Linked DNA regions of Homo sapiens: region 2 is linked to region 1. Evidence: promoter capture Hi-C in human tissues and cell types (Jung and others, 2019). All regions are on one chromosome and are shown on one strand. Each heading gives the region's core, a stretch centred on a gene start or on the middle of the fragment in contact. The rest is flanking DNA. Distances are from core to core; before and after follow the strand shown. Region 1 holds the start of TMEM115 (transmembrane protein 115). Region 2 overlaps CACNA2D2 (calcium voltage-gated channel auxiliary subunit alpha2delta 2).

Region 1 (4,856 bases), core at 1,249-3,748:
AATTCCTACCAGGCCCAGCTCACCTGGCCCCATCTTTAATACCAGCTAAGGTTAAGAGAGACTTCTGTCCTTAGGGCTTATCACCTATAAAGACCCAAGCTCTAGGGCCCAGAATTATGCCCTGCAGCATGCTGTATATACTTTTCAACACCTACCATACCTTGGGCCATAGTGATCTGTGGCCCTTCCCCAGCTGGAACTCCTTCAAGAAAGGAGTGTGTCCCACACTCAATTCCATAGCCCAGTGGAGAGTAAATACAGGGATAACTGCAGCTAAATTCATAGAGCTTCCTGCCACAACCCCATTCACAGGTGAGCAAAAGCAGGAGCCTTGGCAATGCAAAAGACAAAGCCCGTCCCAGATTTTACTACTCGAGTAATTGCCTCAAAACAGTGAGGAATAATGTTGGAAATGGAGCTGTGGATCTTATGAAGGCTGGGACCACTCTGCTGGCTCCACAGATCTGGGAGAGAGAGTAAGCTGAATTTAAAAAGATCCCTCCTGCCCTGGCCAAAGTGCATTCAGTGAATAATTCAGCTGGGACTCCTGATGCTGTGGATAGCTTGGTTTACAGATAATGAAAGGGTCATCGCCACTCCCTGGTGTCAGCAGGCTCCCTCAGTGGGTCATGTAGCCTGTCCCTGGTTTTGGTGACACATGCTTGCTGGAGACAGAGGTAAATGTGGTAATACCCCAAGCTTCCCTCTCAATAAGTAAGTGGCAGAGAAGCACAGCATCTGAGTTAAAGCCCAGGAAGAGGACACAGCATTTGGAAATTGGAGTGGCCCAGATCACCTTTTGAGGACCCCAGGCCTCCTTCCCTGTCCCTTCCTCACAGGGGAAAGTACCAGCAGGTTGCTTCTGGCTCCCACAGGCCCAATGTCTAGGATTCTGAGATTCTGAGGCAAGGCCAGGGTTCTGTGTCCCTCCACTGGGACTTCACAGCACCAAAGGAAACTGCATTTCTTGAGACTTATTAAGTGGCCCGAGTGGTGAGAAAAGTGCCTCGTGGACCCCAGACACCTAACTGCTGAGTTCCTTAAGGCCAAAGACTGATTTTGTCTTTCCGGATGTGCCCCAATACCTGACTGTAGGTCTCCACCTATGTACAGCGAACACCTCAACAGATGGCATGTGACTCGACCAGTATGCTCCTAGCTTGACAAGATTTTGGAAAATTTCACAGTACCTTCTCCGCTCGGCGTCTTGAGGGTCTGTGCCTGGCAGGCTGATGGTGATGGAGGATGGGGCACCCACATCGTAGCGCTTCACCGTCTTCTGGCATATCTTTACCTTCACCAGGAGGCTGTGCACCAAGTTCGCCAGCAAACCCACCACAGGCTGCAGGATCTCAGGGAAGAAAGTGGCGAAAGCAAAGTGGTCAGCCATGTCCCCTCGGCCCCGGCTATGGCGCTGGTAGAAGCGAAGATATACCCAACTGGAGAGCAGCCCGAAGCCATAGGAAGCCAGCGCCGGGCTCTGGAGCAGCGTGGCGAGCCGCAGCAGGAGCAGCAGCGCCAGCAGCAGCATGGGCATCACACTGACGCGCACCTGGGGCACTCGCAGGACCACACAGTCCCCCATGGTTTGCTTGAGTGCCACCAGGACGCCACCTAGGAAGCCCAAGGCGCCGTGGATACGGACAGTGAACAGGTAGACCAGGTTGAAGGAAGCCATGTAGGTGAGGAGGTAGGCGAAGGCCCCCAGCAGCCCTACAGACACATTCACCACTGAGAAGAAGATGAGCAGCTCCAAGGCCCCCCAGAGGGGCTCCAGCAAACGCCCGGCCACCACCACCGTTGTCAGGCTGATGGCCACGTCCCACACATGCTGCTCCATCAGCCCATGGGTGGCCAGGGTCCAGATCCAGAAGTTGGGAGGAAAGAGGTAGCCCGGGGTGACCGCCAGGCAGCCTGTGTCCACGGCGAAGGAGAGCAGGTAGAGGAATAGTACCGCCGCACACAGAGCCTTCACCACCACGCTGGCGCTGGCCAGAATGGCCCCCAAGTGCTGGCGGGCGCCTGGCAGGGCACGTTGCATCTTCCTGGCGGCTGTCGGCCTGAGAAAAGGGTCTGGTAGGCCAGGGGCCTCCCCGGGGCCTCGTCCTAGTCCGGCCCCGATGGGAGGCCCAGGCCCGGCCTAGTCACTGGCCTATGGCCCTGGTAAAGGATCCGCTTCCGATCGGGTGGGGCTCTGGTCCCGAGGGGCCGAGTCGGGCCTTGTTGCCGGGCCGCAGCGTAGGCCCCTCGCCCGGGACCTGAGGGAAGGCCCTGGACGGCTGCGGCACGCCCGCCTACCCACCCTGTAGGCCCCGTGCCAGGCTAGCCTGGTTGGCGTTGACCTCAGGGCTGGGCCTCCTCCATCCACTGCGAGGCCCTTCGGTTCGCAAGGGGACTGGTGCCTCGTTCTGTACCCGAGTCAAGCCTGGTCAGCTCCCGCTCGGCCTGGCTCCTGGCTTCGACCGTACCTCTTCTCTCGGGGGGCCGACAAACAGGGGTGCTGCGCCTGCGCGTCCCCGGCGGCAGCGGGCTGTCCTCTAAGCGCCTGTCTTCCGGCTCCTCTGCATGCTGGGATACGGAGTCCTTGGTTGCAGCCGGGGAAGAGTTGAACAGGGTTCTGGCTAGAACTACAAGTCCCAGGAGGCCATGAGCACGGACCGGTCCCGTTGTGGTGAGCGCGGGGTGTGCTGGGAGTTGTAGTTCTCAGGGACCGTTTCCGTCGGTTCTCAGGAGGTGGGAAGGGATGAATTAGCATCTCTAACCCCTGAAAGCGGCGGTGAGGGTTCGGGAAGCAACACAGCTCTAGCCCCCACACTTGCTGAATTCCCTAGGAAGAGTAGCTCTATTTGTGCGTGTACCTCTGAGCGAGTGTGTCCTTGTTGGCTGGCGTGTGGGTAGGTGTCACTGTGTGAGAAACAGAACCTCCGTGGTCTGGTGAATGGGACCTGACCCAGGCTGGAACCCTTGCTCTGCCTCGGAGGCTGTGTGGCATTGGTTGGTTAAGTTCCTGAACCTTTTTGAAACTCAGTTTCATGGGCCATAAAATGTAGCTGATGACATGATCTTCCTGTCCTAATAATCAAAGGGGAAAGGGGTGTAAAATGCCAGTCCACCCTGGGTGCTCAGCGAGTGCTGCACATGTTGCCTTTTTTTGTTTGTTTTCTCCCACTTGGAAAAGTTTTTTGTTTGTTATTTCACGTTGCCCTTTTTCCAAGTGAGGTGGACCTGGAGCACGAACCTAGGGCTCCCTCCCGCATAGGGACGAGGCTGGGCAGCCCTCAGTGACCCTCCTCCCCACCAGGGACTTCTGATAACTGCGGAGGATGAGAGGTCTCTCTACAAGCCAGGTCTCTCCACAAGCCTGGGCTAGGCCTGTTCTGGTCCCACTTCACGCCACAGTGACTTCTGACAGGTTGTGTTCTGTGTCTTTTTTTTTTTTTTGTATATGGAGTTACTTTTAAAAAACTGTACATATAGGCTGGGCACGGTGGCTCACGCCTGTAATCCCAGCACTTTGGGAGGCTGAGGCGGGCAGATCACCTGAGGTCGGGAGTTTGAGACCAGCCTGACCAACATGGATAAACCTCATCTCTACTAAAAATACAAAATTAGCCAGGTGTGGTGGCACATGCCTGTAATCCCATCTACTCGGGATGCTGAGGCAGGAGAATCGCTTGAACCCGGGAGGCGGAGGTTGCGGTGAGCCAAGATCATGCCATTGCACTACAGCCTGGGCAACAAGAGCGAAACTTTGTCTCAAAACAAAACAAAAAGCTGTCCATATAATTAAAATAATTCTATGACAAAGTGCTTTTATAAAACACAGGATCCCTTCCTTTCAGCCACTGATTTCAGTGTGTGCTGATGTGTGCATGGCCTACAGGTTAAAAAGGGTGCTGATGCTTTTTTTCTGGGGTCTGGGTTCCCACTGGTTGCCACATCTGGGTAAGGTTGCCAGTTTTAGCAAATCAAAATAAGGATGCTCAGTCAAATTTGAATTCCAGATAAACAATGAGTAATCTTCGAGTATAATCATGTCCCCCTGCCCCCTTTTTTTTTTTTTTTTTTTTTTGAGACAGGGTCTAGCTTTGTCCAAGGCTGGAGTGCAGTGGCACAATCATAGCTCACTGCCACCTCTAACTCCTGGGCTGAAGGGATCCTCCAGCCTCAGCCTCCTGATTAGCTGCGACTACAGGCACACACTACTGTGCCCAGCTAATTTTTAAAATTTTTTTATTTTGTAGAGACATGGGCAGGGGCGGGGTGGCCATCCTACCCAGGCTGATCTCGAACTCGTGAGCTCAAGCGATCCTCCTGCATCAGCCTCCCAAAGTGTTGGGATTACAGGCGTTAGCCACTGTGCCCAGCCCCCAGTTTTTCAGTATAGGTATGTCCCACACAATAGTTGAAACACTTCCATACTAAAAACTCGTTCATGATCTGAAATTCAAAATAGGGTGTTCTGTATTTTATCTTACAACCCTATCCAAGATTGCACGGTCTCTTGCAGGCCATGGGAGCTGTCTTGGGGGTTGTGGATTAGGCATTGCTCTGCAGCCGAACCCTGCAGAGGAGACAGAAAAAGTCTCCATCTTGGCTGAGGCCTCGAAGCCCCTTCATCTATTTAGCATCCAAGCTCCCCAACCCTTGGTGGCCACCTCTTCTCTAAAATCTTTGCTGGTTTTTAGCCTTCTCACCTGGGGGGAAAGGCTTTCTCCTCTTAGTTTGCTCATCTGTGGTATGGGGATACACTAGTACCCACCCCAGAGACTGTGGCGAGGACTCAGCCAGGTCAGTGCGCAGAGAGCAGAGTGTTGGGAGGAGAGAGAGGACTGTGGTGGGAAGGCAGGGACACC
Region 2 (4,209 bases), core at 1,077-3,576, 130 kb after region 1:
AATTTACCAGAACATCTTCCGCCTACCAGACTGGCCTGCCCTGACCACCTCACTCTGCAGTAGAAGACAGGCTGGAGGACAGGGCTGGGAAAGGGGCCCCCATTTCAGCAGGCAGCCAAGCACCAGGGAAAGGCAATGCTGACGCGGAGGGCCTGCGTGCTGGGCACTCCATGTGATTTCCACTGCAGCGATGGTACCTCGGCCAGGCGCAGGCCAGTTCATGCCCACTTCACGGATGAGCACTCTGAGGCCTGTGGAAATGGTGCAACTTGCCCGAGACCACACTGCTGAACCACAATCTGAACCCAGTCAACTCAGCCATGGCCCTGTCCCCTAGGCTGTCAGGCCTCCTTAACCTCAAGGGGGACTCCAATGGCCAAATAGGAAGTAGGTTGCAGGTAAGAGCCGCCCCTCGTATACAGCCTTTTCCAACTTTGAGAAGGGGGCTACCTCAGGAACTCACTGCCTCCACAAGCAAGCCAAAGCTGAGTGCAATGGGGAAGTCCTTCCTTATACCCTATCAGGGCTATCCTGCAGTAGGAACGTTGGCCAGCAGGGCAGAGCCCCAGCTCCCTCCAATGCCCCCACCAGGGAGCCTGAGCCAGGTATGGGGAGAATGCCCACTTCCTCTGGGATCTGCTTCTTGCTAGTGCCTGGACCCTTAGAGTGCGCCAAGCTGTATGTAAATGGAATGTGAGTGTTCAACCTGCCTTGACACGCCATGAACCTGTTACTCTCGGGTGCTCTGTGGTGACTCCTTTAGCAAAGCAAATCCCCTCTGCAGGCTGTGAGGGATCCACAGCTGCACAAGCAAGGGGCTTCTAGTGCAGCCCCAGCTACCCCACCTTTCTAGCCTCCCCAATCCGAGAGAAGCCACCTTGCCTGGTGAGCCTCATGATTGGCTTAAGGAGAGGCAGGTGGCTGAACCAGCAGGTCAAATTACTGGCAAAATGCTTTGCAGGTGCTTCCAACTTTCTGTAAATTCCCAACTAGCTCGCTCACTCCCCACCTAGTCACTCACTCACTCATTCATTCATTCCGATAGTAACCATGTACCTACTATGGGCACCTGGGAGGGATTTGGCAGCAAGCAGGGCAGATGCAGGCCTGTCCTTGGGAGCTTGGAATCCAAGCAGAGGAAGCTGATACCTGATCCGGATTGGGGCCTGATGAGAAGAAGAGTCCAGCAAGCCTTGGGGACAGGATGCATGGGATGCATGGGATGCATGGGAAGGGGCCTGACCTGGCCTAGGGACTGGCCAGGTGAAGGTGGCACCACAGAGCAGGAGGGCAATCCAAATGGAGGGCACAACATATGCAAGGCCCAGCAGTGGGCTCCACACACAGTGATGCCCCGTGAGCACCCACAGACCGACCGTGGGCACCAAGGCAGGCTGCTCCCACACCGAGGCCTGCAGAATTCCTACCCTCAAGTACATGGGAGCACCTCCACACACTGGATGGAAGGGCAGTGAGACGGCTGTGCCCAGGGAAGCTGGGCCTCTTTAAGTGGGAGCTCAGTCTCTCAGGAGCTGATTTCATTCATTCATTCATTCATTCACTCCACAGAAACAAACCAGTACCCATCACAACTGGGCCCGGGTGCAGAGCCTCTTCCCCCCGGCATCCTGACACTGCCCTGTACTTTGTATCTTGCAATCTTGACCCCAGGGTGAGGGCAGCAGAGAGTACTGAGGCTCAGCACAACAAACATTAGAGGCTGGGGATATTGTTATTACCCACCCCACCCCCCACACCTCTTCCCCCAGCTCCATGGGAGCTCCCGCCTGCTGCAGCCCCTCTACCACCCCCCTAGCAAGAAGTGCCCACAAGTGCAAAGCTTTCGCCATTTTCCTGGTGTTTTTTTTTTGTTTGTTTTTGTTTTTGAGACAGAGTCTCGCTCTGTTGCCCAGGCTGGAGTGCAGTGATGTGATCTCTGCTCACTGCAAGCTCCGCCCCTCGGGTTCATGCCATTCTCCTTCCTCAGCCTCCCGAGTACCTGGGACTACGGGCGCCCACCACCACACCTGGCTAATTTTTTTGTATTTTTAGTAGAGATGGGGTTTCACCCTGTTTGCCAGGATGGTCTCGATCTCCTGACCTTGTGATCCGCCCACCTCAGCCTCCCAAAGTGCTGGGATTATAGGCATGAGCCACCGCGCACGTCCTTCCTGGTGTTTTCTGACACAGATATTGTCACTAGAACATCATCTCCTGAGAACAGCACCTGACAGGCAGAAGGTGCTCAAAAAATGCTGGCTGAATGACTGGATGTTCCATCCTTACAACTATGAAACATAGGAAATGTGATCCCATCATAAAGATGAGGTAACTGGGGCACAAACAAGGTCACATATGGGGTTCCCTTTATAATCCCCAGAACCAGGCTTTCTACCACACAGCAGGCATATGCATCAGGGCCCACAGCTCCAGGGCCTTCTAGATGGCCCCATGAAGTCCCCATCCTTCTTCATTGTAGAGTAATGGCCTCCTCCATATGCCACCAGTCTGGAAATCACCTGTGAAACATACTTCCCCCCGCGCTGGCTCAGGAACCGTGTAAATCACTAGGCTTAATGGCCTTTGGGATTGTTCCCCACAACCCCCTCCCCAGCTGTTCTGTGCCAGGGAAGATGGGGCTATGGGGCGCCAGACAGGCAGGGCCATAGTCATGAGGTCTGGGCAGCCCAAGGCATGGTAAGTGCTAGGAGGCACTGCCCAGGGGAGCAGCAGCCCCGGAAGCGCATCAGAAAGACAGCGGTGGGGCTGCCGGGAGCCTCCAAAACTGGGGCTGGGGCTGGGGCTGGGGCTGGGGCTGGGGCTGGATCTATATGCAAGGCAAGCCTCTCCCCTACTCAACTCCTGCCCCTTACCTCGTCCCCCCATCAATGGCTTATCCATGGAGAAAGATGTGTCCAGGTGATCTCCCCAGGACCTCCACACCCTGACTGGGGAGGCCCAGGGCCATGGGAATGGCAGGGGAGCCTGGGGGCCTGGAGCAGGATGTCTCATGGCCCCTTGGATGCTGCTTGGAGCACCAACCATGCATGGTGTTATTTATTTGGCCTCACTCCCATGTCTTCTTCACTGTTTATCTCCCCCATGGACTGAGTGTCCCAAGAGCAGGGACCCAGTTGGCCCTTGGAGACCCCAGAGCCCACTCAGGGCAACACACAGCTAAGGTGTGGGAGTGGATTCAGGTGGGGAAGGGATGGTCAGGAAGCAGGTCCTGAAAGATGGGCAGGCTGTGGAGTGGGCGGCAGGGCAGATGGGGCATGGGCAAATGTCTATGCAGAGGAGCGGTTTGGAAGGAGCGGGGCAGACGGCTGGGAAGCCAGGTGATCTCCCTGGGACAAGCTGCAGATTTTGGCAACTGGCTGCATGCACAGGCATTTGGGTTCAGCTGGCTCCCATAGATACCATGGTTAGGACATTGCTCAGAACCAATATACACCATCCCCCAACCCTGGGAGCCTCAGTGCCCCCTTGCTGGGCAGAGGGTGAGGATCCTGTGTTTATCTTCCTATCCCCTAAGGCCACAGTTCTGTACCTTGGCTCAACTTAGGGGGAAGAGGGGGCTCTAGAAAACATGCTAATGCCTGGACCCTGCCTCCCACCCCATTAAATAATACAGGTCAGTGGGTCTCTGGACACCCCCTTTACTTCCCTCCCCAGAGCAGCCCTTGGTGGCAGCCCCTGGGCTGGGAAAACTCCTTGCAAAAGCCACAGGAAGATATGTGGGAGTGGCCTATGCCCTCTGGCTCCAGCAAAGCCAGGCTCTGTCCCAGGCTGCTGTGTAAGAGGCTGCTCCATTTTCCACAGTCATGACGAGCTTGGCTCTGTGGACACCTGCACAGACCATGGGCTCCCTGTTCAGCACATATGGATTGAGTACTTGGTGTATGCTAGCTGGGAGCTCCAGCCAAGGGCAACCAGCCACTGCCCCCACCCCTCCCAGCCACATAGTCCCTGAGCAGCCAGGCAGCAAGGTCTATTTCAGGACAAGAATAGGGAGGACAGGGGCTTGAAGCAGGCTAGGAGGCCTCTGACCCAGACAAGGAGGTCAGCGAAGGTTTCAGGGGACAGTGACTCCAAGCCAAGCACCGAAGGACAGGCAGAGGTCAGTGGGACAACAGGTGGGTCCTGCCTGGGGTTGGCAGGGCCCTCGGCAGCCCATCCAACCTCTCCCCAGCTTCCTCCATGCTGAGT

The links. Contacts are between HindIII fragments. The study calls those that stand out against the background at their distance.
Region 2: a contact is called between a fragment that was not itself captured here and the fragment with the promoter of TMEM115 in region 1, in 2 of the 25 tissues and cell types used here (neural progenitor cells and pancreas).

What each region holds. Positions count from the first base shown.
Region 1 is chr3:50,357,023-50,361,878 of GRCh38, forward strand. TMEM115 (transmembrane protein 115) reads right to left here and starts at 2,499. Exons shown (of 2, transcript NM_007024.5): 1 at 1,191-2,499. The coding sequence starts at 2,041. LOC127898564 (CYB561D2-LOC101928965) reads left to right here. Exons shown (of 5, transcript NR_183066.1): 3 at 1,096-1,654. RefSeq lists enhancers at 1,802-2,692, 2,419-2,718. The HindIII fragment of the contact is 17,456 bases long and covers 1-4,856 here.
Region 2 is chr3:50,486,832-50,491,040 of GRCh38, forward strand. All of the region lies in intron 1 of CACNA2D2 (calcium voltage-gated channel auxiliary subunit alpha2delta 2), which reads right to left. Among named protein-coding and RNA genes, the nearest start is that of CACNA2D2, 15 kb to the right of the region's middle. RefSeq lists an enhancer at 1,323-1,823. The HindIII fragment of the contact is 4,875 bases long and covers 1-4,209 here.